7 separate regions of the Homo sapiens genome follow, and all the other regions are linked to region 1. Evidence: promoter capture Hi-C in 16 types of primary human blood cells and fetal thymus (Javierre and others, 2016). All regions are on one chromosome and are shown on one strand. Each heading gives the region's core, a stretch centred on a gene start or on the middle of the fragment in contact. The rest is flanking DNA. Distances are from core to core; before and after follow the strand shown.

Region 1 (4,141 bases), core at 1,001-3,500:
TTCTTTGGGGGAATGGGAGGGAGACTTATACCTATCATCATGGAAAAAAACCCTCTTCCAAACCAAGCAGGTGTTCAGGAACCAGAGTGGGAGAATAAACGCTGGCCAGGAACCAGCCCCACCAGTAACTTGCTCCATGACCTCGGAAAAGTCAACCCCTGTGTCTGTTTCCTCATCTGTATAAGGGGAGTCATGGTCTGCCCAGCAGCCTCACACCTTGAGAAGGTGCAATTGTGCTTAAGTACAATGTCTCAGATCAACGTAAGGATCTGCGTGGTTATGGACAGTGCTCTTGCTTGTCCCTCTGAGAATGGGGGAAAGTAGAACTATAGAGTCCTCTGTTTATAGCTGACTCATCTACCAGGAAGCCAGTGGTGTAACCTTGGCTGCTTGGTAACTTTCCTTGAATCATGCAAGTCTGGTGCAGATAAACTGGCAGGAGCCTCCTTAGGGAATGTGCATGTCATCTGGAATACTAAAAGGCTGCACTTCTCTTAGGAGAGCACTTTGTACCAAGGGAATTTTATGGCAGGAGCTGGGGATTGGAAACACAATCCCTCCTTAGCCCCATTTTACAGATTTAACAATCTACCCACTTCCATCAGTAATTCATAGGCAGATCACAGTCCTAACTCAGGTATTCAAATGCCTAGTCCCCTACCCCTCTAGCTTTCTCAGTTGGCTCCAAGGAAACAAAATTTCACCCATTAGCATCCCCAGACATTAACCCCTGCCTCCCCATAGCACTCTGGGCAGAGGATCTCTGCCCAGCCACCTCCACACCCTGCCAAGGCGAGGAAGGGAGGAGGGAAGAATGGAGTGAGGCACACCTGATGCCCCTCTGTTTTCCATCCCCCTTGCTCTCAGACCCCAGGATAAACTCCCTGTCATCCCACACAGATCTGGGACAGGGGCCTGAATGACAGGTGTCAGAGCCCACAAGGCTGAGCCTGGCCCCCTGGGGGGCTGTGCAGTGCAGTGGTTAAGAACTTGTCTTCTGGAGACAGCATCTGTCTTAGCCTTTCCCGTTGGCCTCCCTTTGGGGTCAGCCCCTCCAGGAGCCATTAGCTACCCGAGGGGAGGGTAGCTACAGACACCACAAAATGTCTGAGATGCCAGGATATTTTGGATGCTCATCTTAGCCAGGTCTGTGCGTAGAGAGGGAAATCAGATCACTTATTTTTTCGGAGTAACAGAAACAGAGTCTCTAGTGATATCAAAAGCCTCTAAAGGAGGACCACCCTTTATGCCTGAGTCAGACCACCACAGACACTTGGAATCCCAGTGCTGGGGGCTACCTCCAAAGGTCATTTGGTCTGGCCCTTGCTTTTTGGGTGAGTCAGTGTCAAGACCACACAGAGCAGAGGGTTAGTCACTGAGGCACTTAGGGTGGTGCCTCCCCCTACCCAGAGATGAAGTCACCAAGAGTACCCAGGATTATCACTATGAGGGAACAGGTCTGGGACTGGCACCCCAACGCTGCCCGCCACCACACCCACTGCTGCTGTATTGGGAAACCTACATGCCCACGGCGGCTGGAAAATGGACAAAGGAAGCAGGGGGGTGTTCAGGGCCCCCAATGCCATTTTCCACTCCTGCTCCCAGCCAATCAAGCTGGGGAGGCCACGTTTCCCTTCAGGATCCCCTAATTTATCCCAGCCTCCAGCAGGGTAAGGGGGCTAACCTAGCATTCAACAAAAGGGGAAGAGGAGGAAAGAAATGAGTGGTCTTCTGAGACCTGTGGCTGGAGCAGCTGAAGGCAGGGGAGGTGGGGGAGATGGCAGGGGGAACCTGGAGGCCTTCCCAGCCCAGGCCACCTCTCTGAGAAAGCTCCCACTTGCTCAGAATAAAGGTGCAAATGCGGGTGGGCTCTGGGTCATCTATGTTAGGGAAGAAAGTTACTGACAGTTGTGCCCAGAGCAGCCGGATGTCTCCCAAACCCGGGACCACTACCCCAGCAGGCTCTGCGACCAGACCACCTCCTGAGGGCAAACGTACACCTGCCCGCATTCAGCGCCGCCCCCTGCCCCCTTCACCGCAGGTCCCCTGGGTGCCAATGGGCACAGAAGTTGGGAGCTTTACTGACCGTCTGCGTCAAAGTGCTTCCATATTTCCAGGAACTGGGACGCCGTCAGCTCGGCCAGGTGCAGGTAAGGGGGCTGCTGCTGCGGGCCAGCCATGGCGAGCCGCTCGGAGACCTCAGCCTGCACCGCTCCCGCTCCGCGCCGGCTGGGCTCTGGCACTCGCGCTGGGGTTGTGCGCCACGCTGCCCTTATATACGCTCTGGAGCCTGCGCCTGCGCCCGGCCGCCAGAAGGGGGCGCGCGCGCTCAGGGAATCCGACCGGGGCGCGGCGCGGCGGGGGCGGCGGCGCGAGAGGCTCGGCCCGGACTCCTAGAGGGCCCTTACCTCTGCGCTGAGACCCCTCGGCGCGGGGCCAGGGACACCCGGAGGATTTTCGGTGAAAATGAGGGAGAGGCTGCCCTTGCCTTCCCTCCCGACCGTCTTGAGTACATCCACCACTTATTATTGCTGGCAGTAGCAATAATAATAACAGCAGTAACAACACTAATAGTAATACTAACACAAACTTGACAAATATTTAGCACTCGGGCTTCGGAGTTCACTAGGTCTCTGTCGTGCCTCCTCTCTTCTGATCCTTCCACAGCAGGAAGAGCTGGGACCACTTTTCTGATGAGGTACTTGTGACTTCAGATGATTAAGTGACTGGCCCAGCAAATTAGTGGCAGGGCTACAATTTGAACTCAGCACTCTTTCCACGCCGCACGTGGCTCCTTCATGGGGCTCAGTCTTGCAGAGCAGCCAAGAGTTCTCAAGGCTTTAGTGGGGAGCAGCTGGAATCAGCAGTGCCCCGGGAGGATTCCGATGGAAGTGGTGTGGGGTGGGGGTGGGGGGCTTCCACTGTCTGTTTGGGTCTTCGTATATCCGTCCCCTCGGAGCCTCCCTCCACCCCTGGTACCTGCCTCACGCTGGCCATGCTCTGGGGGGCTTTTAGACATTTGGCCAGGGGGTGGCAGAACTAGATCAACCCGTACCAGGTCTTAACCACGCCCACCTAGGGACATCGTGGGAATGTGCCTGCTCCAGTGGACAGAGAACAACGTCCAACTCTGTCTTGGGGATGTTCTGAGCTGGTCTCAGAGAAAATAGACGCAGCTACTGAGCGCACATCCTGAGGGCAGCAGACAGGACTCCCCAGCAGGGAGCTGGGCCCTCTCCCCATTCTCTCCTGCGGTCTGAGCCCTTAGGGGTCTGTCCTGGCCTTGTGGTGTGGTAAGGTAAGACACATTACCCACAGAGTGACAGCATCATCCCTCCTTTCTCCCCTCTCCTGCTACGGAGTGACTGAGACATGAATTGGCGATCTTTAACATGTGCTAATGAGTGTTAGCTGAACCACCTTCCAAGAGGAGAGTGAAAGGCAAGGAGGTAAGTGAGAATGAAAAGGAGGTCGCTGGGGGAGAGGGGAACCCAGGAGGAGACAGAGAGAGGGTTGTCCCTTGGAGAGAGGGCCAAGCCCAGAGCGAGTCTCAAAGGGGCAATAGAGAATGCAGGTTCCAAAACCACTTGTTCTTTGCCTAGGGTGAATGTGTTTAGAGTTACTTGCAGGAACAGACTGGGGGGAGAAGTCATCAAAAGCTAGCTTTAGAGGTACCCATCCACCTTGCTGAGAGATTCACCAAAGTCCCTAGGGAGGCAGGATGACTCAGTGGTTAAGAGTAGGCACTCAAGAATCAGGCTGCTTGGGTGTGAATCCCAGAATAAGCTGTGTGACCTTGAGCAAATTATATAACCTGTCTCTGCCTCAGTTTTTCTCTTCTGCAAAATGGGCATGTGGGCATACGCCTTTTAGAATTGTTGGCTGGGTGCCGTGGCTCATGCCTGTAATCCTAGCACTTTGGGAGGCCGAGGTGGGCAGATCACGAGGTTAAGAGATTGAGATCATCCTGGCCAACATGGTGAAACCCAGTCTCTACTAAAAAAAAAAAAAAAAAAAAAAAAAAAAAAATTAGCCAGGCGTGGCGGTGCATGCTTGTAATCCCAGCTACTTGGGAGGCTGAGGCAGGAGAATCGCTTGAACCCGGGAGGCGGAAAGGTTGCAGTGAGCCAAGATCGCACCA
Region 2 (4,161 bases), core at 477-2,976, 390 kb after region 1:
ATGAGCTCATTTTCCATAGAAGATGATCTAATTCTCTAATATTTATAAACCAGCTGGAGAAACACATGCCGAAGTACTTAAGACAGAAACTACGCGCTGAATTAAAGCCAAAGACACGGATCTTCGAAATCCAGCCCATTTCTGGAGTCTTGGATCCTGGTGAGAAGTCCAACGTGCAAGTGAAATTCATGCCAAAAGAAGAGGTGAGCTTTAAAGAAATATGGCTTCATTTAGATTCTCTGGACCTCTTTGAGCTTTACTCAAAGTCCATGCTTGTTTGGGTCTCAAGGGAAGCTTCGAGTGACCTGTGCCTTGCTTTTCTGAATATGGCATCTCAAGCACTTCTGGTTCACATAGGAGCTGTGTGGCCTGGTGGTCTGGAATCATTGGACTAACACATCAGTTTTTATCAGAAGGCCTGGGTTAGTAGCCTTCTGCCTCTGCACACTTACATGCTGTGTGTCTTTGAGGAAATTACTTAGCCTCATTCAGTCTCAGTTCACTCATAGATAAAAGAAAAAATAGTCATGTTGCATATCAGAAGTCCTTATTGAAATTCTGAAACCCAGTAAGATCCAAAACTGGGGGTGGGGGGTTTGAGATTTCATAAGCTTCGCACTAAAACTCATTTGGCAGAAAAATCTCATCTGAACTGACATGACACCATTTAACCTTTATTTGTACAACTTAGTTTTCAGAGTCAAACATTGCCAACAACTGTTAATGTGTTTGATTACAGGGGACCTGCCCCAGACCCTGCTGAGGGTATTAGGTAACATAGGGTATATGCACTGTGTTTACTATTTGAAAAATCTGAATTTGAAAGTATCTGGCCCCTGGGTTTCAGATAACTTATTGTCAACCTGTAATGACTACCTCCTAAGGTCATTTTGAAGATTAAATGCACAGTATTGAATAAAGTACACAGTGTGCTGCTCTATGTAAGTAAATCTCTCAATAACTATTAACTATTATCATCAGTAGTCGTGAAAAGTACGTCCCAGTAGATGGCCTCCCGGAGCCTCATAAATGTTTCTTTTGTGAACATAATCAACTCAAAGCTACTTCTGACCAGGAACATAATAAAATTAATAAAATCCTCGAACCAGAGAATCTCAAGAGGTTGCACTGTAAAGACTTTTATTCAAAGCCTAAGGCACTTGGGAAATATATTTTTCTCTATTCTGTTATTTTAAAAGAAAAATTGATTTGTGTTTTATAGAAGAGCTATGGTTAACTCCCATTTTCCTTGTAATCGCTTTGAGGAAATGCTTAAGCACCTTCAGTGAGAAAGAGAAAAAGCAAATGACTTCCTATCTCATTCTAAAATAAAACCCATGTTTTTATCATTATCAAAATCTTCCCAGTCCATTTAAAAGAAAATTAGTAATATGTTTGTCATTCTTAAAGAGTCTTAAAATTTTCAAAGGGTTTACTCAAGATTGTGGATTTTTTTTCCATTACTTAATGAGGGAAATATAGTAAAAAAAAAAAATAGATTTGTTCAAGCAGTTTCATGAATGTTGAGTTGGAATTGGTCAAAGTTAGTAAAATGTTTCCACCAATTAAGAGAGAAATTTATTAGCTGTATACAAGGAATTGGTTAGCCCTGCAACCCATACGATCCATATATCTGCATCATCATCAACATCAGCAGCACCAAGAAATCAGTGACATCCACACCAACAATTCTTAGGCATGATAACATGTTCAAGAAAATGAATGAAATGTTTTAGAAAGATTTCCATAAGGAGCAATTAAAATACAGAAGTTTGAATCATAAGGTACTAAGCCCATAACTATAGAGAAACCCTTCTTAGCCAGTAATTTATCTTTTTGTGTCCAGAAATAGATATTTCTGTGTGTATGTCTGTATACATTCCATCCATTTGCTTTTTCCCCTTCAAGCTAAGATAGGAGGTCTTCAGATTGTGATTTGCGTAATTTCCTCTCAAACCAAGCTACAAGTCCAGCTATACCAGAATAACCTAGGCATCTGGTTAAAAATGCTGAATCCCAGCCTTACTCTGCCCCTACAGAGTCAGGATTTCTAGGGATGGAATCTGAGGATCTGCATGTTTAATAGGTTCCCCAGTGAAATCAGACTAGGAACTATGGGATGCAATGTAGATTTGGGTACCATTTTGAGAAAACATGTGAGTAGTTATGATATCACTATTAACCAGTATCTGGTTGTAATTGTATCTGATGAACTGAATGCCCCAGCTCTGGCATTCTGCCAAACTCTGGGAAAATACACAAAGTACACACTTCAGAATCATCACTCCTCAGGAGCAAGGGAGCTGGGGTCTTTTTACCGTAAATCCCCAGAGTCATTGCTTAATAACTAATTCCAGATGGTATCATTTCCCTGGCATTTTTGCCCTGCCCTCCCCTGCCCATGGACAGCAGGTTCCATGAAATGAGAACCTTCAGGCCCAGAGATGCAGACAGTGGCAGCTGGAAGTCTGAGCACACTGGAAGATTTGAGGGATGTGAAAGTGATACTCAGAGGGCTTGCTACAAACGATGAAGCACTTGGTACAAGTGCTAGAATGCTAGATACCCAGAATTTATTTGATATCTAGCACTTGGTACAATGCTTGGCATGCTAAATACCCAGTACTTATGTTAATTCGGTAATAAAAATTACTCTTATGCAATTTTATAATAAGTTTTCTCCCTTAATCTAAATAGATAAGTTTTTTCCCCTCAGCAGTGTTTTGTTTTACATGACATGTAATGGAAATAAACTCAGATGCTTGTTTTGTTTTTATGTTTTCCAGAAATTCTACAGCCAAACCCTGGTGTTTCAGATTGCCCAGAGTGCTCAAAAGCTTACCCTCCTGGCACGTGGGCAAGGTCTAGAGCCACGCCTGGAATTTAGTCCTTCAGTCCTGGATCTGGGGCCACTGCTACTTTGTGCACCTGGAGACGAGGCCGAGGTGATAGTGAAGAATCCCTGCAACTTCCCCATTGAGTTTTATTCCTTAGAATTTGATCAGCAGTATCTCATAGAAGAAAAGGTGAGCAGAGGTCAAACCAAACTGTTTTTCTACACGTTCCCATCTTTTTCCCCTTGAATTCTTCCTTGTCAATTTAGTGATTACTTCCCTATAGCCTTTTCTGACCTACTTCCCTTGACCTGAGTAAAATCCTAGACATTTTAAGCAACTAATTGAAAAGCTAATGCATGTTCATGGTTAAAATTCCAACAGTAAAGAACCGTATATAGCAACTTGTCAATATCATTGTATTTGAAGTTGAGTTACTTGTAGACAGCATGTAATTGGGTCATTTTAAAAAATATGCTATCAGTCTCTAACTTTAGTTGATATATTTAGACTTTAGTTGATATATTTAGTTTACATTTAGTGTAGTTATTGCTATTTCAGGACTTAAGTCTGCCATTGCATGTTTTATTGTTTTTTGGAATTTTTTGCTTTCAGGAATTTTTTGTTTACTTTTTCCTACTTTCCTATCAGTTGCTTCAACATTATTTAAAATTCCATTTTTATTTACCCAGAGTGTTTTTTGGGTGTATCTCTTTGTATAGCTCCTTTAGTTATTGCTGTAGGTATTACATTATCTATACATAACATTATAATCATTGACTGTCAATGATTAAATGTCAATCACTGGTATTGACATTTTAGCAGTTCTAGTGTATTTAGAAAACTTTCCTCCATTTAACTCCCTTCAGCCTTCCGATTTTTAATATAACTGTCTTAAATATTTTTCTTATATTAGCTAGCACTATAATTATTGTTTCAACTGTCAAACATACATTTGAAGACCCCAGAGGAAAGAGAAAATGTATTATATTTGTCTCTCTTTTTACTCTTTCTGTTCTTTCTTCTTTTCTGATACGCCAAGATTTCTTCTTTTATTATTAACTTTCTGTTTAGAGAGCTACCTTTAGCTCTGTTGTTAGGGTATGCCTGCTGATAGAAATTTCTTAGTTTTCCTTCATCTGAGAATGCCTTGACTTCCCCTCTCATCCTTGAAGGATTTGCTCACTGGATATAGAATTCTGAGCTGACAGTTCTTTCATCCCTTGAAATATATGCCACTTTCTTCTGGCCTCCATGGTCTAATGAGAAATCCAATGTCATTTGAATTATTTTTTTTCCTCTGTAGGGAAGATTTCATCTCTCTCTC
Region 3 (3,797 bases), core at 910-3,409, 470 kb after region 1:
TGTAGGAGGTGAAGGCAGGCAGATTGCTTGAGCCCAGGAGTTGGAGACCAGCCTGAGCAAAGTGGCAAGACCCCCCTGCCTCTACAAAATACAAAAAAAGTTAGCTAGGCGTGGTGGTCATATCACTTGTAGTCCCATCTACTTGGGAGACTGGAATGGAAGGATCGCTTGAGCCCAGAGAGGTCAAGGCTGCAGTGAGCCGTGATCGTGCCACTGCACTCCAGCCTCAGCAACAGAGCGAGACCCTGTCTCAAAAAAAAAAAAAGAAAAGAAAAGAAAAGAAAAAGTAACACAAAATCAGGGAGGCTCCTCAGCAAGGAAAGGGTGGCACACGGGAGGAGGGAGGGAAACACCCCTCAGACAGGGCCACACAGCCCTTCATGGCAGTGCCCACACTTTTCATTCCATGGAAAGTTCTCCTTCCCCAAGAATTCACAGATGACAAAGAGACTTTTCCCCTGTCAGTTTGGAATTAGTGCTAAGTGGAATCTTGCCTGTTGGTGAGTTTTCTTTTAGATTAAGACAGGGGCATTAGCTGTGCTCTTTGAGGTTGCATGGAATGGAGTCACTCTCAGGTTGGAACAGGTGATAGAGGGTTTGTTGAAAGAATGCGCAGGGAAGCAAGGAAGCACAGGGGTGCAGGTAATTGGGCAGCCAGGGTCTCCTGGAGCATGGCGGTGACATTCAGAGCCCCACAGCAACTCCGGGCATCCCACCTCTGCCTAGGTGGGATACATCTTGAGCCTACGGCAGTCCCTCTGCCGGTCTCATGAGCCAGCTTCTTCCTGTGGTTCTTGCCTCACCTCCAGTAGGCCATGGGCTTCCCTCCCCAGTACCTCTGTTACAGGACCCCTGCCCCCTCCCTGCTGTCTCTCTCCCCAGGTTCTCTGGTTTCTGTGTCACTGTTCGCTCTGCATGTGCTGAAAGCCAGACAGACACAAACAGAGAAAGAGAGAATTAATTTAGATGGTCCTTTTTCAATATCCAATGTCCCTGTTGGACAGAGATCTCCTGCAATGGCCTCTCTTGACCATGGGATAGAGTATGGCTGTCTTTGCCGTAAGCATCAATTCCTAGCCTGGTCAATCCTGGCTAAGGAGAGGCGATCACGATGTACAAAGCACAGTGGACTCCGCCGGACGTAGTGGCTAAACAGGGCTGGAAACACAGCAGGCACTCAACCATCTAGAGTCTCCTCTCTGGGATCTTGAGTTCCCGGGATAATGACCTAGGCTGACTTCTTATTCTTGTCTTTCAGCTTTTCCGTGGACTCTGTAGGGATTTCAACACCTAATATAAATTCCATGATCTCAGTCCAACCCAAAAAGGGTTCACTGACCCCAACAGAAAAACCCACAAATGTCCAAGTTTTCTTCCATGCAAAAAAGGAAGTGAAGATTGAGCACCAGCCTGTTCTGCGCTGTCAGGTAAGAGAGCTCCAAAGGGAGGGGCTGCCTCAATGGCAGGATCGTACGACTCCTGTTGCAAAGAAGGATACATGACCTAATCCATGCTCCAGGGAGAAAAGGGGAGGGCTGGCCTGGGTGGCAACCAGATAGGATACACCGGGGTTCTGTCCTAACTATCAGGCAAAGTCATCAGAATTAGATCCAGTGAGGAAATGTGCCCCCAGGTCTTTGGGGAGCATCAGAGGCAGGGAAGCTGAGTCCCATCATCAAGTGCAAAGGATGAGCAGGGAACTGAAAACATGAGGAAAAGTTGGCTAAGTTGACCCTTGGCTGGTACACAGTAAGCTCTGTTTTAGTGTTCGCAATAATACGAAGACAGTGAAATAAAGAACATGGCTTCATGTCAATGATGAAAATAGGGAATGGGGTAGATAATCATGGGAATTCTGTAGCTACAGCAGTGGCTGACTTGCTCATTCTTCTTCCCGTTTTAGATTATTGAGCCCAATATTTCAGAAGGAGGTGAGATCATTGCCAGCATCCCAATTAAGTTTTCCGCGAATGCAGTATATTCCAAATACAACATCACCCCCTCCTCTGTCATCAACTTTGGAGCTTTGATCTGTGGCACTCGTAAAAGCACCACCTTCACCATAGAAAATCAAGGTGTTACTGACTTCAAGTTCGCCCTTTATAAGCTGACAGGGGAGAGCCCCATTCATCAAAAGAAAGCGTAAGACAAATATTTACTTAACTCATTCCATTCCCTCTTTAATTTATGCTTTATATTTTATAAAGAGCTTTCGTATATCTTACTTAAATTCACCCAATCCCGTTTTGTGGGTGAGATCAGTAAGATTTAGAAATGGCTCATTTAGATTATGCACAAAAGCTGGGCGCAGTGGCTCACACCTGTAATCGCAGCGCTTTGGGAGGCCAAGGCGGGCAGATCACCTGAGATCAGGAGGTCGAGACCAGCCTGGCCAATGTGGTGAAACCCCATCTCTACTAACAATACAAAAATTAGCCAAGTGTGGTGGCACATGCCTGTAATCCCAGCTACTCGGGAGGCTGAGGCAGGAGAATCGCTTGAACCTGAGAGGCGGAGGTTGCAGTGAGCCGAGATCGCGCCACTGCACTCCAGTCTGGGCGACAGAACGAGACTCTGTCTCAAAAAAATAAAAAATAAAAAAATTTTTTTTTAAATACTATACACGAAATCACCAGTAGATCTTGGTGTGAGCCCACATCTTCTGACTCCAGGTTTCATAGATTTCCTGTAGAATATATCATAAATTTTAGTTGAACAAACACAGTCTTCTGCCTGGAATTTTGTCTGTTGTCCTGGTGCTCCTGGCGTGCTGAAGGACTTGTTAGATCATTGTCCTATGTGTCATTCTGTACAACGCCAAGAAATTATTATCATAGGAAGCTAAATCAAAAGAAATCGTAGCAGTGCTTCATGGTGGGGCTGCTCTGGAAGCGTGGAAGAGAGGAAGTGCGGTGATGCCTTCAGCCTACCAGGGACTATTATTGTTATTGCCTGTTACTATTATTGCCTTCTCCCCATGAAGACACCGTCACAAAGCTACCTTAATAGTTGTTCCAACAGCAAAACTCCATGTTCTTCAAAAGGAGGCTGTCAATCAATTCACCCAAAACAATTTGTCTTTTGAGTGCTTTTGGCTTCTACTGGGCTGCCATACTCTTTTTCGGGCAAATTAAGGATGGTTTTTACCGATTCCTGAGGCACTTCTGATTTAATTTTGACTTTCTAGTTAATTCTTTTAAATAAGATGTATGGCTTTACATTGTAGTTGTTTTATATTTCTGTAGCTATTCTTTTCTGTTTTGACAAAATTTGAACATTTTTTAAAATGTAGAGTTGAATTGTGTAAAGTCTCTTTCTTCCTAGTTTAATTTCAACTGAATTTTTTTACAATTTATAACAATGTAATGTCTATAATGATTATGACTTAATTCTGTTTTGCTTTACATTGGTTTTTATTTATTTGTTATTTTAGCATGCACAAGTTCATACAAAACACACGAAAGGGGGTTGAACTTCACGTGTTCTGGTCATTAAGCAAGTGAATGCTTGAATATATAAAATTCTCAAAAGTTTAAGATGCATTTCAGATACATTTGAATATTTTAGGTGAACTGGTCTCTAGGCAAACTAATTATTGGATAAACTAGTTTCAAGGCAAGTGAACAACTACCAAGACCTATATTTGAACTACTGCTTATACTAAACCTTAAAAACATCACAACTATAAATGTGAAGATACAGAAAAGAGCTTAATTTATTTGCCATTTCATTTTTTAAAATCAGATTAAGTAAAACATTTGACATCCACAAGTAATTTTCTGCACACTGCTTTCCAG
Region 4 (4,002 bases), core at 1,090-3,589, 480 kb after region 1:
TGTTTACTGTTTCTAGTTTCTAGCTGAAATTGTCAGACATGACTTTTATTTCTTGAACACAGTAATCATAGGCATTTTACAGTCTATACCAGATAATTCCAAAATCCACAGTCATTGTGGCTCTTTCTGGTATTTCTACTCATCTTTTTCTACTATTTCTACTCATCTTTGCCCATGTTGCCCTGCCTCCTCATGTGCCTGGTTATCTTCTGTTCATGTGTTGGGTATTATATTGTAAAAGTTATTTAGAAATCATTAAACTAAGGATCATATTTTTCTTCAGAGGCAATTTTCATTTGCTTCTGCCCAACACTTGGGGGCACTAGAAATTCAGGATCACTTTAAGCCAGTGTTAGGGTTTGAGATTTTCTGGATTACCCAGATGACTCAGAGCAGGATTGCCACCCTTGGGAAAGCTGGTTTATATCCAGCTCACCTTTCATCTTTTGAGGTCCCAGCCCAGAAGAAAGCATTGTCACCTTCCACAGGCCTTGAACTTTTGCCCTCTTAGCACCAAAAGACCATAAAAAGTACAGACAACGCCTGTAATCCCAGCAACTTGAGAGGCTGAGGTGGGCAGATCAGGATTTTGAGACCAGCCTGGACAACCTGGTAAAATCCCATCTTTACTAAAAACATACAAAAATTAGCTGGGCATGGTGACTCGCGCCTGTAATCCTAGCTACTCTGGAGGCTGAGGCAGGAGAATCGCCAGAACCCGGGAGACAAAGGTTGCAGTGAGCCAAGATTTCACCACTGCGCTCCGGCCTGGGTGACAGAGTGAGATTCCGTATCAAAATTAAAAAAAAAAAAAATGTGCAGACAAGCCTCCTGTCTACCTTTTCCTGACTGGCAAATGCTCTGGGCGGACAAAAACTGCCCAGAAAGTGAGACTGACCTTGCTGGATTTCTATACTCTCACAGATCCTGGTCTATTTACTCCTCATTCTCTTCGTAGCTCTGTTATGCTTTAAAAAAAATTTTTTTATATATATTTAGTCTAGCAATTGTTGTTGCCTTGAGCTCAGGTTACCTAGTTTACCATTACCCTGCATCGTTTCCATTATTGTGGCTTTATAATATGTTTTAGCATCTAGTTCAGTGAATTCCTATCCACCCATTCCCTGTTTTTGCCATTTTTCTTAACAATTTTCACCTATTAATCTCTCAAATAAGCTTTATAATTATTTTATAACGTTCCTTTAAAAATCCCATCGGGAAGCCTCTGAATCTGGTAGGATTTCTGCTTGCGGAGTATTTAGACTCTCCACCAGGAACATTTAGGATTTCCACCCATTTATTTAGATCTTTTATGTCAATATTCTTACATATAATTCTTCCATATAGTTTCTTATTAAAGTTGTTTCTAAATACATAATTTTTTATCTCAGAAGCTTCCCGTGTGATATCACTATTTCTGCCTTCTCCATGCCTCATATTTTGTATTATTCAATCTTTTTCATGATGGTGCCAGCATTACTGTCTTCTAACAATGCCTGCTGATGTCTCATATCCGAAATCAGATGTATGGCTTTAGTCTTATCTTCCTTATAATGGGCCAGAAACCACCACTTTCTCCAAGTAGGTCAAATGCCCACCTTGTTTTTTCTCTTATCGTGGTAGGATGCTCAACATGACACTATCAGGCAACTAAACTAATGCATAGCACCTAGGAGATACTGGTTTTTAGGAATTGACATCAATGCAGGCCCTTATAGAATTACAAGTATTCATTTGCATTTTATTGGCCTAGCGTATATTTTATAACTGCCTCTGTTAATGACAGAGGTGTTGGCAACCACATTTTGACACTACCTACGTGATCTGGAAAGTTCTGCATACTCCTTGGACCTCCAGTTCCTCACTCAGATAACAAGGGCTGATCTGACTGAATGTTCTTCTGTCCTCTCCAGGTCTAATATTTATTATTTATCTCTCTTAAGAAATTCAAAAAAGTGAATACTAGGCATAATACCTTTTTGGGGTCCTGCCCCAAACACAGCACAGTATCTCACCCCAGACTCAAAGCCCATGAGCAGCCTGTAAGCCTAGCACTCATCCCTGCTTTCCTTCTGCCAGCTGCATGTTGACCTGCAGGATGAGCTAGGAGTCTTCTCCCTGAAAGGGAGGCCCACCACCGCGTATATCTACATCACAGAGGAAAATAAACCACATGTAAAAGGTAAGTGTGGGGAGGGTGCTTCTAGAGGGCAATGGATCTCAGTAGCTGCTTCATTAGGGGACCACTCAAGGCCCAGCCAGAGGGGAATGCCCAGTCTCGTCACCACTGGCCTCTAGCTAAGGCTCGTTCCCATTCTAGGGTTACTTTCCCTTCAACAGGGGTCTTTATAGATACACATTTCTTGAAACTAGTTCTAAATCATATCTTCTCTCTTCTCTTTGCAGCAAAGAAAGCTCACACAGCCTCCTTGGTTGTTTCTCCTGGAGATACAGCTGAATTTGATGTCGTTTTCCACTCCCAGAAGGTTGGGAGGATGAGAGGTATCATCCACTTGTCAGTGATCAACAACCAATATGAGGAGACCTCCATCCACATGGTGGGAGAGGGCTATGAGGATGACATCACCTTGGACAACATCCATGGACTGGTGGCCCCCACCAGCCAGGAAGACATAAGTATCTCTGAGTTCACAGAGATCATCGAGGACAATGATATGGAAGACTTGGTGGCAGGTGGGAGAAACAGCAGTGAAGTGTTGGCAAGTGTTGGCTACTGGGTCATTTGTTTTAAATGAGAGTAAATTTAAATAACAGGTTGGTTACCTCCCTGAGAATTTAGGACTGACTCTCCTCTTCATTACTCTATGCTCTGGCATGCCTGGCTCAGTCATGGCATCCATCCTTCCATTTATTCATGTGTTCACTCGATGAATATGTATTGATCACCAAGTACATGTTCCAGGCATGCTGATCCCTGGAGTTTCAAAATTAACAAGGAAGTCTCTACTCTTAAGGAGCTTATAGTTTGATATTCAAATTCTGGTTCAACTAATAAGCAAATAAATGCCTTGCAGTTTTTCCTGTCTGCATTTATTAGCTGGCTTGTGTTGGCATTGTCTGTTTATTAGAGAGAGTATAGGTTTGGGCACTTCTAGAACATCACTCTGCACAGCCCCACTACTCAATGAGCAGTTTGAGATCCTATGGCATCAGCATCACCTGGGAGCTTGTTAGAAATGGGGGTTTCAGACCCCCCTGCCCTACTGAATCAGAATCCACATTTTAACAAGGCCCCAGGTGACGTGTTTTTATACTAAAGCTTAAGACATGTTGTGCTGCAATCTATCAAGCACTAAAGCTTCATTTAGTTGACATTTTTGGGGATTGGAAAAATTTATCATCAAATTGTTATCATCAGAAGGCATTGGTTAAGCGCCCTAATTATGTGGTTGGTTGCTAAAAAGTGAGTTATAAACAGAGTCCCATAGTTTACCTAGAAGCTTAATTAAAGTCCTGGAATGTACCGTTAGGTGGTCTACACAACATGGGTTGAAATCAACACTCCTCATATACCTGGTGTTTCAGCCCTGTTTGAGGCTACAGGGTGACATCTCTCTTACCAAGGCTCAAGCAGGAGCCAGCAGTGAATCTAAGTTCAGAACTCAGATTTCATGCCCATAATAGGATTGCCAGAGTTAGCAAATCAGAATACAAGACTCCTCAATAAATTGGAATTTTGGTTAAACTATGAATAATTTTTAGTATATGTATATCCCAAACATGGCATGGGACATACTTATCCTAAAAATTATTCATTTCTTATCTGTAATTCAAATTTAACCAGGACTCCTATATTTTATCTGGCAATCCCAATCCTTTATAATATTTTCTCACCAAACAAATGGAGTTGGGGACCTATGTTTTCTCTTGTACAAATGGAGGTGAGGGCTAAGGTGGGTGAATGGATGATGGATGGATGGATGAAGGGATAGAGGGATGGATGGGTAGATGATAGATGAATGGGTGGATGGATACATGCAT
Region 5 (4,063 bases), core at 608-3,107, 370 kb after region 1:
GCAAGGCACTGAGGTCACATTGTAGGAGGCAAGGTCATGTAAGAAACCCGAGCCTGCACTTCCAGGCCCCTAACAGAGAGTGCTTCCCAGGCCTCAGCTGAGTCTTAGCCCTGCTTTCTGGTGAACTGGGAGCAGGATCCCCAGTGGCTCATTCATTCATGACCATGCCGACTACTTATTCCAGGCCAGGCACTGGATTAGACACCATATTGGATACCAGTCCTCAGCGAGTCCACATCTAACAGGGATGGTAAAAATAAGTGTGAAAGGGGAAGCCCAGGGGGCTATGGACACTCAGAGGAAAGAAGTTGGGCCTAGACTGGTAGTCAGAAAACTTTTTAAGAGCAAGTGAAATTTTAGCTGAGATTTGAAGAAGGCAAGTTCAAGGGAGGGTGTAGGGTGGTCCCTACTAGATCTGCCTGGTCTAGGATTTGGAGTTTGGCCTTAGAAACTGAGAGCCCACTGAACACTGATTTGCAAAAACTGATGTCTCCTGTCTCCCCCTATTCCCTGTCCCATGCTTTGGTAGGTTTGTGACATTGCCGAAGAAGCCCTACAGTGCCCCAGTGTCCCAGATGGAGTCCATCCCAGCAACCTCAGAGGCTGCCAGCCCACCAGCAATCCTAGTTACAGTAGAGTCCCCCGAGATGGATTTAAATGATTTTGTTAAGTAAGTGCAAAGCCAACATAGATTATTTGTAGTAGCTTTTCTTTTCTTTACACGGACTTACATTCTCAATACTCATCCCTCATTGGTTCATTCATCCAGTACCCAGTCAACAGTTTAATAAATGTCTTCTATGTGTAGGCCCCAGACTAGACATCTGGGATAGGGAGAGGGTACCATCATGAGTCCTGGGGGACTGAGCCCTTCCTATCATATTGTCCTCTCTGTATGTCCAAGGTCTACAGTCAGGATTGGGTCCAGGGTAGCAAGCAGGAAAGGATATATCAATTCACCAAACATTATGTCCTCACAATAAAATGCTCCAATAAATAGGGAAACAACATTGAGCACATAGAACACCCACATTGTCTGAAGAATTGCTGGAGCTTCCTAGGACTTTTTGTAAGTTGAACATGGGCTTGGTGGGCCAGTAAAAAAGGGTTGAGCCCCGTGAAAAATTGACCAGTTCAGTGGCCTAGACCACATGTTTGGGGGCATAGGGCAACAGGGCCCTGACCAGCTGACCTCTTGAGAAAGGTGTCCCTTGATTGAGAATCCCCCTTACGTTTGGGGGTGTGGTAGAGGGAGAAGAGGAAGACAGGGCTGTTATGCACCTGAGACTGTGTGGCGATGACAGCCCAATGAGTGAATCTCTGCATTTCATTAAACTTCCTAGGACTGTCCTTGTGGATGAAGATGCCAGGCCTGAAGAAAAAGAACTAAGAAAAACGAAAGCTTCCAGTGTGATCTCAGATGTACGGTGTCCTTTCCATGGGGAGGGTAGGCAGGTCAAGGGTCCTTCCCATAAAACAAAGGCAGAATCAGGAGCAGAGTGGCCAGTACAATGCTTGGGTTTAATTGGGACAAAGCCGTACAGCTTTACCCACATTTCTTCCCAGCCAAACACCCCAGAGCCAACACTCAGTGAGAGCCTACACTTGTGATGTTCCTACACCCTAGATAGAGGATACTAAAGGAAAAATATTTTCTTAATAATTCTGTAGCAAAAACAAAGGGGGCTTAAAAATTAATACCCTTAAATTCTCCTTCTAGAATGACGGCCTAAGTAAACTATTGGAGATACAAAGATGTGCATACAAAGATGCTTGTTACAACATTTTAGAAACAGCAAAAAATGAAAAACAAAATGAAAGATAAATTGCTGTATGTCCATGATGTGATGCAATCTTTTAAAATAGTGTTGAGTGGGATTTTCCTACAGTGTGGGTAGGAGTATGAATTGGCATAACCTCTATAACATACAACTTTGCAAGTAGATCAAAATTTAAAATGCATTGTCCCCCTTCTAGAAATTATCCTCCAGATACACCTCTGCACTTGCATAAAGCATGTAACCATCCTTGTACACTGCAGCTTTGTTTGTAAAAGCAAGAAATATTGGAAACAACTTAATTCCACCAATAGGAGACCGTCTGAATAAACTAAATTACATCTGCACAAGGCAATACTATGAAATTCTTTTTTAAAAATGAGAAAGTTCTCTACATACTAATTTGGCACAATCTTTGATATATTAAGAAAAAATACCCAGTGCAAAACAAAGTACACTGTGTGCTACCATTTGTATAAAGAAAAAAGTCTATGAAAGCAACCAACACTTAACTGAGCACTGACCTAAGCTTTTTTTTTTTTTTTTTTTTTTTTTTTTTTTTTTTTTGAGGCAGAGTCTCACTCTGTTGCCCAGGCCAGAGTGAAGTGGTACCATCTTGACCCACTGCAACCTCCACCTCCTGGGTTCAAGCAATTCTCGTGCTTCAGCCTCCCAAATAGCTGGGATTACAGGCACTTGCCATCATGCCCGGCTAATTTTTGTATTTCAGTAGAGACAGGGTTTCACCATGTTGCCCGGGGTGGTCTTGAACATCTGAGCTCAGGCAATCCACCTGCCTCAGCCTCCCAAAGTCCTGGGATTACAGCCATGAGACATCGCCCCCAGCTAAGCAATTTTTTACATTAACTCTTTTACTTTTCCCAACACCTCTGTGAGGTGGATACCACTATCTTTCCCCATTTTACCAATGCAGGGACACGTCCATCAAGCAGTGGAGCTGGAAGACTCGACCATCTTGCTTGCTCTTAGCTACTGTGTTATCTCTCAAACAGTTACATAGATATCTTTGCTTGTGCGTGGAATATCTCTGGAATTTAATCTTCATGAGGGCAGGAATTTTTTTTCTGTTTTGTTCATCGTCATATCCTCAGGATATAGAACTGGTTCTTAGTAAGTCCCCAGTAAATATCAGCTGAATTAAGAGGAATAACTAAATTCAACATATAGGAAACTGGACAGTGGGTACCTCAGGAGGGGAGAACCGGAGAACTGTAGGGATAGAAGTCTTTTTTTATCTTTTTACCATATATCCTTTTGAATATTTTAAATTTGTATCATGTACAATCAACTTTCTAAAATACTTTAAGTGATGTTTGTGAAGAATATTCAGTCATATGGGAAGATGGCACTCATATTAGGTCAACTGAAAAATCAGAATACAAATATGTATGCACACATAATACACTATATATACACACATATATATAATAATATTTATCTACAGTATAACCTGAGATGGACTTTTATTTCTTTCCTTGGAGCTTTCTATATTTTAAAAATTTTTTAGAATGAGTATGTGTGAGTATATAAAATATTTGTCTTTTAAATATTAATTCTTCTTTTTCTGTTTTCAAAGATGCGTGTCATAGAAAACTCAAGAATAGGCCAGAAACAGTGGTTCACGCCTGTAACCCCAGTACTTTGGGAGCCAAGGCAGGAGGATGGCTTGAGGCCACGAGTTCAAGACCAGCCTGGGCAACATAACGAGACTCCAGGGTGTGGTGGTGCACGCCTGCAGTCCTGGCTACTTTAGGGAGGCTGAGGTGGGAAGGTCACTTGAGCCCAGGCATTCAAGGCTGCAGTGAGCTCTGATCATGCCACTGCATTCCAGCCTGGGTGACAGAGACAGACATCTTGTCTCAAAAATAAAATATATATGTACATATATATGTACATGTGTGTACATATAAACTCAAGAATACAGAAAAATTAAAGCAAACATCCTCAAAATTCCCATCTTCTTTCTACCCCACTGAGAAAAATGCTACGAAATTCTTAGCAAACAACCTCCCAGATATTTCTATTTGCCAATGCAAATCTCTGAAGGAATTTACACACACACACCTTCAGACACATGAGGCATATGTAATTTTACATGAATAGAACTGCTTTTCACTCAATAATATGTTGTGCACATCATCCCTATCCATAAATATACATGCATTATCCTTCATGGATAGGTGTACCACACACACTTCATTTAAAGTGACCCCCTATTGATGGGCACTGAGTTGGCTTCCAAAGTTTTGCTGTTATAAATAATG
Region 6 (3,723 bases), core at 882-3,381, 400 kb after region 1:
AAATAAAAACAGTGTCATACAAGTGTATTGAATTAATGGAAAGTTGTTCATGATATATCATTTTACATGAGAAAGGGTGCCATACTCACGGTGTGTAGTTAGTATTAGTGCCCCGTTGCTACTATAACAAGTGACCACAGACTTCATGGCTTCACATAATGCAAATTTATACTCCCATAGGTCTGGAGGACAGAAGTCTAAAATGGGTGAGCATGGCTGTGTTCCTTCTTGGAGGATCTGGGGGACAATCCGTTTCCTTGTCTCTTCTAGCTTCTAGAAATGTTGCCTGCAACCCTTGGTTCCTGGCCCCTTCTTCCTCCTTCCCAGCCATCAGCATAGCATCTCCCAGTCTCTCCTGCTACTTCCATGGTTGATTGACCTGCTCTGACTCCAACCCTCCTGCTCTCCTCTCATGGGGACCCATTGTGCCCGGTTGGATAATCCAGGCTAACCCCCCATATCAAGATCTGTAAATTAATCACATCTGCAAAGTCTCTTTTACCCTAAAAGGTAACATATTTGCAGGTGGAAATCTTTGGAGGAGCCATTATTCAGCCTACCACATCACCTATTTCTTTTTTTATAAGAAATACAGTTACATGTGTACTTAGCGACCATAGGCTAACGGTACTATCCCTGAATGAGTGGATGATGGATTTTTTTTCTTTTCTCTTGTCTGTTATATCTGAATTGTCTGCTTTTTTTTTTTTTTGTAATGAAAGTACCTTGAAATGAGAAAAGAAATCAACACAAGTTATTCTTTAAAATAAAAAGTTTTCCTATTAGAATCAGAGACAGGAGGAACTACAAAGTATTTTAAAGATCATCTGATAGAACCTGTTTCTTAAACAGACCCTGTGCAGTGGCTGACACCTGTAATCCCAGCACTTTGGGAGGCCAAGGCAGGTGGATCATTTGAAGTTAGGAGTTCGAGACCAGCCTGGCCAACATGGTGAAACCCCATCTCTACTAAAAATACAAAAAATTAACCAGATATGGTGGTGGGTGCCTGTAATCCCAGCTACTTGGGAGGCTGAGGCAGGAGAATCACTTGAAACCAGGAGGCAGAGGTTACGGTGAGCTGAGATCTCGCCACTGCACTCCAGCCTGGGTGACAGAGTGAGACTCCATCTCAAAAAAAAAGAAAAAAAGAATCTGTTTTTTAAACTGAGGGAAAACCCAGCGAGGATGCAGATTGCCACAGCATGCACGCATCAGTGGCAGGGTTAGAATCAGACCCACAGCCCTGACTCCAGGCTGAGGTCTTCCTTCTCTTTGCTGCTAACACCTCCAGCCACATGGGAAGGAGGCAGAGCACTCAGAGAGATCACTTTGCAGGGACCTCTGCTCTTGAGACCTTTTCTCTCTGGGACACTGAGCAAATGAGCACCGTGAAATTCAACCCCCTGGTCTTTTTAATAGGAAAGTCAGCCAATGCCGTTAGCGTGGCCAAGTACTACAACGCAGCCTGCCTGAGCATCGACTCCATTGTGCTGGAAGCTGTGGCCAACAGCAACAACATCCCAGGGATCCGGGCCCGTGAGCTCTGCATCAGGGCTGCCATAGAGCAGTCCGTGAAGGAAGGAGAGGAGGCTGGTAAGAGCCCATTCTCTTGGGTTTTTGTGGTCAAGTCACCAACACCCCCACTGACAACACCCATCTTCTCTGTGCCCCACTGAGCTCTCCTCCCACAGCCTGGTTGAAGTCTGCCCTACAGCATGCTGCCAACTTCATAGCCCAGAGGAGAATTCTCTTCACGAAGCATTCCTGGGTCTCCTGCCCTGCCCAATGCCAGCGTGCTCTTGCCACTGTGGGGACCAGGACAATGAATAAGACACAGCCCACACCTTTGGAAGTCTGACACCTGGTGGGGGAAGCAGACATGCGGTCACTCAGAGCAGAGGAAAATAATTTTGCAACAGAAATACCAGCTTCTTTGAAAGAGCGACTTTGGGATGAATGGGTTCCAACAAGGGTGATGTGGGAAGTTTTCAAGGAAATGGGTTTGAAGAAGCAAGAGAATATTAGTAGGCAAAGATGGGGACAAGGACATTCCAGACCAAAAAAGCAGGGAAACTGGTCATAAATTAGGGGTGGGAAGGCAGGTTGAGGCCAATCATTGTTCACCTTGAATGCCAAGATTAGGAATTTGAGTTTTATGTTCAAGGAAAAGAGCTATTGGGACAGTTTCACACTATGGAAAAATGATCAGAAAATCACAATAGGAAGGTAGCCCTTGACTATCATGTAAAGGAAGCGATAGTGAAGCTGCAGACAAATGGGCCTGGGCCGGCCAACCCGACAGCCAGCTGCATGGTGGAGAATTGAAGGAGTAAGAGGGATTCAAGATGGCCACGCCCAGCTTCCTAGCCACAGAATCCAGGAGAGAGCGATGTCATGTACCTAGATAGGGAACACAGGAGGAAGAAAAAGTTTGCTGGAGAAGAAAATAAATTGGGTTGGGTTTGGGGGAGGGGGGTTGTTTTCTTTCTTTCTTTCTTTTTTTTTTTTTTTTTTTGAGACAAGGTATCTCTCTGTCACCCAAGCTGGAGTACAGTGGCACCATCATAGCTCACTGCAGCCTCCTGGGCTCAAGCGATCCTCCCACATTCGCCTCCAGAGTAGCTGGGATTACAGACATGCACCACCATGCCTGGCTAATTTTTAGGGTCTCGCTATGTTGTCCAGGCTGGTCTCAAACTCCTGGCCTCAAGCAATCCTCCCAAAGTGCTGGGATTACAAGATTGAGCCACTGTGCCTAGCCTGAATTGAGTTTTGGAATCGCATAGTGGGGAGGTCTGGTGTGGCCTTCCTACAAAAAGTTGAGAATTCTGGCTCCATCAGGTTATTTGAGGACCTTCAGGGCAGGCGAGCAGCTGCTTGATGGGAAAATATACTAAACACCAAGCAGAGCGCCTGCTCAGAGGGGAAGCATTCCTATGTCAGTGCCCATGGCATGACGTCATCCCAAGAATGCTTCCAGCCTGCTAGTTGATAAAACTGGCTGGGACTTTCAGGGTTGTCCCCTCCCCTCAATACCTCTGCGTGGGACACTTAGGGAAATGGAAGATTCTTTGCTGGGAAGATAAGAGAAATAGCTCTTTAGTGAGAACCTCTGGCTATGCCCTAATGCTGGTTCTCTTAAATTTTTTATTTCCTTTTCTGTGAAATAGTCTACATTTCATAGTGATCTGTGGAGCCATGTTTATGTCCTGTGCCTAAGGGTGAATTTGAGTTCCTGGTCTGAGAAAATAACATCAAGCTAGAGACACAGCTGGGAGAGTCTTTCTCCATGAAACCACTAGGGTAGGTGAAGCAGCCAGAAAAGCCCAGAATGAGCCAGGAGGAATGTTTGCTGGACGAGGCAGGTTAGGACCATGGGGAACACCTACATTTCAGGAGGGGTCATGGGGAAGCCGGGAAGTAGAGACAGCAGAGCCAGGGCCACAGGGACTGTCAGGGAAGTCAAGGAAAGGGCCCCAGAGCCTTAGGAAAGGGAGAAGCGAGGAGGAGTTTCACGTCCCTCAGAGCCCTGCTGGACAGGGAGCCTTCCTGCTGGCCTAATCTCACAGCCCACTTGTCTAGCTAACCTAATACTGATCTACCTCCTTTATTGTCTGCCCCGACCCCATGTAAGCTCTGGAGGCAGGGGCTTGTGTTAATTTTCCCCACTGTAGTCCCAGCACCTGGAAGAATGCCTGGCATAGTTGACACATAATAAAG
Region 7 (4,171 bases), core at 1,457-3,956, 430 kb after region 1:
GCATAAGTTCAGGATAATCTATGCAGAAGTTATCTACCAAGCTTGCTTTTAAAAGACAACATTTCATTCATCATTAAAAGAAAGACTATTTGCAGCACAATTAACCTCAAATTATACCCACTGACTCCATCACTGGTGTCTCCATCTGGAATCTGTTTTAAGTAGGAGCATGTGGATTTTCCTATTTTAGTGTCAGTTCAAGTTGCTGTCACCTGACCACCCACCCCCAGCCCCCGACCCCAGACCCCACTACCAGATTCAGGGCAGGTACTTTTGTATGTGCTCTGTTGACCTTGGATGGAGGTGATAAGGACCTTATGACAGTCATCCATTTGGAGACAGGCTTGTGTATCACTTGAGCTTAGTACAAAACACAATCAATCATGTTCCCTAGGGGGACTTCTTGAGACTCTTGGACTAATGCGGTTGCCTGGTCTGAAAACACTTAAGCTGAAGAAAAACTGCTGAGACTAGATGCATTCTCAGGAAGTGAAAGAAAATTCCAGGGGGAGTGCCAAGGTGAAAGGGAATGACTAAAGACCTTCCTGCTTCCTCATCAAAAGGACTGCTCTATGTCTTCGACCGTCAGCACACCTGTTTTCCTCTCTGCTCTGGCTTCAGCTCTTCTCACAGGCTTTGAAGATGTTCTCAAGAATCACCCACCTTTAAAATGAAAAAAAAAAAAGTTTTCTTCAACCCTGGTGCCCCCGACAAGCACCCCATTTCTCTCCTTCCCTTCATGCTTGTCTCCACTTGCTGGCTTTGCCTCGTCACCCCTCATTTCTGCCTCCCCGTTTCCTACCCTGATTCCTGTCTCCACCACTCCCTCGAATCCAAGGCTCCAGCCTCTCCATTTCCAGATCTAATGGGCATGGGTTAGGCCTTGACTTGCTTGACGTCCTCCTCCATGAGCTTCACACTGTGGATCGTACCCTCCTTGGATCGCTCTTCTTTCCTAGCATCCTGGTCCGCCCTTTCTGGCTTTCCTCCTTCTCCCTGGTTTCTTTCTGGACCCGCCTCCATCCATCCTTAGTCACTCTGCAGGTTTCCAGCGTCAGCCTTTGTGTCTTCCTGCTTGGTCTAAGGCTGACCCCCATCCCATGCGTGACTTCAGTGCTACCTGATCATACATAATGGGTTGGAGGAAGAGAGGAGGGGAGTCAGGAAAAGCTTGCAAATTCCAAAACGAAGTGAAGGGCATTCCAGGCAGAGGGACAGCCCAAAAGAGGGAGGAGAGAAAGGCAGAAGCCACATGAAAAAGAGCTAAACCAATGTTTTAACAACTAATAGCTACTGTGTGCTGAATTCCTGCTATGTGACACTCCCTGCTGGGAACTGTGAATAGATCCCATCACCATCTACCTCCAGTCTCCACAACACCCGCTGAGGGAGATATGATCATCACCATCATTTTGGAGATGAGGAAGCTGGAATGCAGCACAGTTAAGTGATGCACCCAAGGTCACATGGCCAGAAGGCGGTGGGGGCAGGCCCAATTTGTCCAACTCCAAAGCAGGCACTCCTTTTCCTGGTTCTTGCACTGCCTCCCAAGCCCTTAGTCCATCCATGGCTCCTGACACTTCTTCAGATTGTCCCTCGGACACTGGTAACTCAACACGGCCCACACCAAGCTCATCATCTATGCTGCCTTTCTTCCAGACCTCTTCCTGGCCCTATATTCCTCCCCAACCCTTCTTTCAGCTCCCAGGCCCAAATCCCAGAGTCACCCTGACCCTGTCACTTCTGCACCTTCACCCCATGACCAACCAGGAGCCCTGTGAGGGAGTCCCCCTCCTAAATTGTTCTCAAGCCCGTCCCAGACTAGGGCTCTCCTTTCTTCCCCATCCCCAGCTGTCTCACCCGTCTTTGCTGTGGTACTGTGTAGCTACATGGTAATTCCATCATCACACCCCCTGGTTTTCTGGTTCTGGAAACAGGATGGGGAAGAGGACACAGTTTGCAGAAACATAAAGTGTATTTTTCTGTTTTTCTTGCTTGTTGCCAAATTAGTTTAATATCCATGGAAGGAAATCATAGTGGAGAGACCAAAAGTGTCTCACTTAGAGCGGAATCTTTGTACATATCCATGCTTACTTCCTTAGGATACATTTCTAAACATGTCATTCCAGGGTTGAAAGGTGTGTATTTTACCCCTGACCTCACAGGCTATAGGTTTTAGCATTCCTTTTAATCCTTGCTGACTAGATTCGATGGGTGAACAACTGAATATTTTTATTGCTTGGATTTGCATTTCTTGAATTGTTAATGAGGTGAACCTTTAAAAAAAAACATGCTGGTTGGCCACTGAACTCCTCTTCAGGATTTTATTTAAACATCCCAGCAAGGCCTTCCCTGGCCACTCTATTTAAAATTGAATAAGACAAAAGCAAAAACAAAACAAACAAACGAAAACCAACAAAAAAAAAAACCCACTTCTTAGCCCCTTCCCTGTCTTCTTAGCACTCATCACCATCTCACATACCATAGATTTTTATGTGATTTTGTCTGCCTACCTGCCCCTGCAAAATATAAGCCTCATGAAGGCTGAGGCTTTTGTCTGTTTTGATCACTTAATGAGTCTCCCACCTGGCAGAAAGGTGCTCAAAAATATTTGTTTTATGTGTGGGTATGTTTTTGTTTATTTTTTATTTCTTTATTTTTTGAGACAGAATCTTGCTCTGTCGTCTAAGCAGGAATGCAGTGGCTCGATCTCGGCTCACTGCAACCTCCGCTTCCCATGTTCAAGTGATTCTCCTGCCTCAGCGTCCCGGGTAGCTGGGATTACAGGCGCCCGCCACCACACTCGGCTAATTTTTATATTTTTAGTAGAGACAGGCTTTCACCATGTTGGCTAGGCTGGTCTCGAACTCCTGACCTCAGGTGATCCACCCACCTCAGCCTCCCAAAGTGCTGGGATTACAGGTGTGAGCCACTGCGCCTGGCCAATCACTTTTTTTTTTATTTTGTGGATTGTTTTTACCTTTTTTTTTTTTTTTTTTTTTTTTTTGATACAAGTCTCGCTCTGTCGCCCAGGCTACAGTGCAGTGGTGGGATCTCGGCCGCAACCTCCACCTCCTGGGTTCAAGCGCTTCTCCTGTCTCAGCTTCCCAAGTAGCTGGGATTATAGGCACCCACCACCATGCCTGGCTAATTTTAGTATTTTTTGTAGAGACAGGATTTCACCATATTGGCCAGGCTGGTCTTGAACTCCTGACCTCAAGTGATCCATCCACCTTGGCCTCCCAAAGTGCTGGGATTACAGGCATGAGCCACCACACCCAGCCTGTTTTTGCCTTTCTAATCGGAAGATTTCCTTCCATCTAATAGCCTACTGCTCTTTAACTGTTTATCCTATAAAATGAAATCTGCTGGTGATTCTGATTTTCTCTATATCAGCTTTTCAAATCTGAATATGCACGCAAATCACCTAGGGATCCTGTTAATATGCAGAGAGGTTCCGATTCCGTAGGTCTGGGCTGGGGCATGAGACTATATTTCTAACAAGTCCCAGGTCACATTCATGCTGCTGGCTCTTGGGTCACACTCTGAGTAGCAAGGCTGTAAGCAGTTGCGTAGCAGCCAACACTAACGTTAGCAAAAGCACAGTCTCAAGTGGATATATTGTCAGGAATCTTTAAACTGCAAGAAATAGAAGACTCAATTCAGGCCATCTGTGGTGGTGTGCACCTGTAGTCCCAGCCACTCAGGAGGCTGAAACAGGAGGATTGCATGAGCTCAGGAATTTGAATCCAGCCTGGACAACACAGCAAGACCCTGTATTAAAAAAAAAAAAAAAAAAAAAAAAACAGAAGAAAGAGAGACAGAAAACCCAATTCAAAAAACGTTAAAAAAAATTTATTTGCTCACATGTATGAAAATTCATGGCTTGTTCCTTCCTGAATTCTTATTTCAGATACTGTATTTTTCACTTCTAAAATTTCCACTTGGTTCTTTTTAAATTTTTCAGTTTATCTGCTTGGATTTCCTTCTGCCTTACTGATCATAGTTATAATAGCTGCATATAGTTCTTGTCTGACAGTTCCTCCATCTGAGTCATCTCAGGGTTGGCATAGTTGACTGTCTTTTCCTTTGAGAATTTGTCACAGTTTCCTGACTCTTCATATGACAAGTAATTTTGTATCACATCCTGAAATTTTTTAATGTTATGTTG

The links. Contacts are between HindIII fragments. The CHiCAGO score rates a contact against its expected background, and 5 or more counts as called.
Region 2: a fragment that was not itself captured here is called in contact with the fragment with the promoter of CALB2 in region 1 in 1 of 17 cell types (endothelial precursors); the score reaches 7.0 in endothelial precursors.
Region 3: a contact is called between a fragment that was not itself captured here and the fragment with the promoter of CALB2 in region 1, in 1 of 17 cell types (endothelial precursors). The highest score is 5.9, in endothelial precursors.
Region 4: a contact is called between a fragment that was not itself captured here and the fragment with the promoter of CALB2 in region 1, in 4 of 17 cell types (endothelial precursors, erythroblasts, megakaryocytes and 1 more). The highest score is 9.4, in endothelial precursors.
Region 5: a fragment that was not itself captured here is called in contact with the fragment with the promoter of CALB2 in region 1 in 6 of 17 cell types (endothelial precursors, M0 macrophages, M2 macrophages and 3 more); the score reaches 15.1 in endothelial precursors.
Region 6: a fragment that was not itself captured here is called in contact with the fragment with the promoter of CALB2 in region 1 in 2 of 17 cell types (endothelial precursors and M1 macrophages); the score reaches 9.7 in endothelial precursors.
Region 7: a fragment that was not itself captured here is called in contact with the fragment with the promoter of CALB2 in region 1 in 5 of 17 cell types (endothelial precursors, erythroblasts, M1 macrophages and 2 more); the score reaches 11.3 in endothelial precursors.

Annotation. Positions count from the first base shown.
Region 1 is chr16:71,356,832-71,360,972 of GRCh38, reverse strand. It overlaps CALB2 (calbindin 2), which reads right to left and starts at 2,250. Exons shown (of 11, transcript NM_001740.5): 1 at 2,087-2,250. The coding sequence starts at 2,180. RefSeq lists enhancers at 233-527, 1,554-2,519 and a silencer at 2,222-2,451. The HindIII fragment of the contact is 14,542 bases long and covers 1-4,141 here.
Region 2 is chr16:70,969,385-70,973,545 of GRCh38, reverse strand. It overlaps HYDIN (HYDIN axonemal central pair apparatus protein), which reads left to right. Exons shown (of 86, transcript NM_001270974.2): 35 at 54-203; 36 at 2,787-3,026. Among named protein-coding and RNA genes, the nearest start is that of VAC14, 170 kb to the right of the region's middle. The HindIII fragment of the contact is 2,226 bases long and covers 614-2,839 here.
Region 3 is chr16:70,889,991-70,893,787 of GRCh38, reverse strand. HYDIN (HYDIN axonemal central pair apparatus protein) reads left to right here. Exons shown (of 86, transcript NM_001270974.2): 56 at 1,259-1,427; 57 at 1,904-2,142. Among named protein-coding and RNA genes, the nearest start is that of VAC14, 91 kb to the right of the region's middle. The HindIII fragment of the contact is 8,070 bases long and covers 1-3,797 here.
Region 4 is chr16:70,872,997-70,876,998 of GRCh38, reverse strand. HYDIN (HYDIN axonemal central pair apparatus protein) reads left to right here. Exons shown (of 86, transcript NM_001270974.2): 63 at 2,080-2,182; 64 at 2,407-2,694. Among named protein-coding and RNA genes, the nearest start is that of VAC14, 74 kb to the right of the region's middle. The HindIII fragment of the contact is 1,886 bases long and covers 1,397-3,282 here.
Region 5 is chr16:70,988,677-70,992,739 of GRCh38, reverse strand. It overlaps HYDIN (HYDIN axonemal central pair apparatus protein), which reads left to right. Exons shown (of 86, transcript NM_001270974.2): 24 at 530-670; 25 at 1,344-1,422. Among named protein-coding and RNA genes, the nearest start is that of VAC14, 190 kb to the right of the region's middle. The HindIII fragment of the contact is 905 bases long and covers 1,405-2,309 here.
Region 6 is chr16:70,953,248-70,956,970 of GRCh38, reverse strand. HYDIN (HYDIN axonemal central pair apparatus protein) reads left to right here. Exons shown (of 86, transcript NM_001270974.2): 40 at 1,423-1,596. Among named protein-coding and RNA genes, the nearest start is that of VAC14, 150 kb to the right of the region's middle. The HindIII fragment of the contact is 9,942 bases long and covers 1-3,723 here.
Region 7 is chr16:70,930,846-70,935,016 of GRCh38, reverse strand. All of the region lies in intron 45 of HYDIN (HYDIN axonemal central pair apparatus protein), which reads left to right. Among named protein-coding and RNA genes, the nearest start is that of VAC14, 130 kb to the right of the region's middle. The HindIII fragment of the contact is 3,067 bases long and covers 1,173-4,171 here.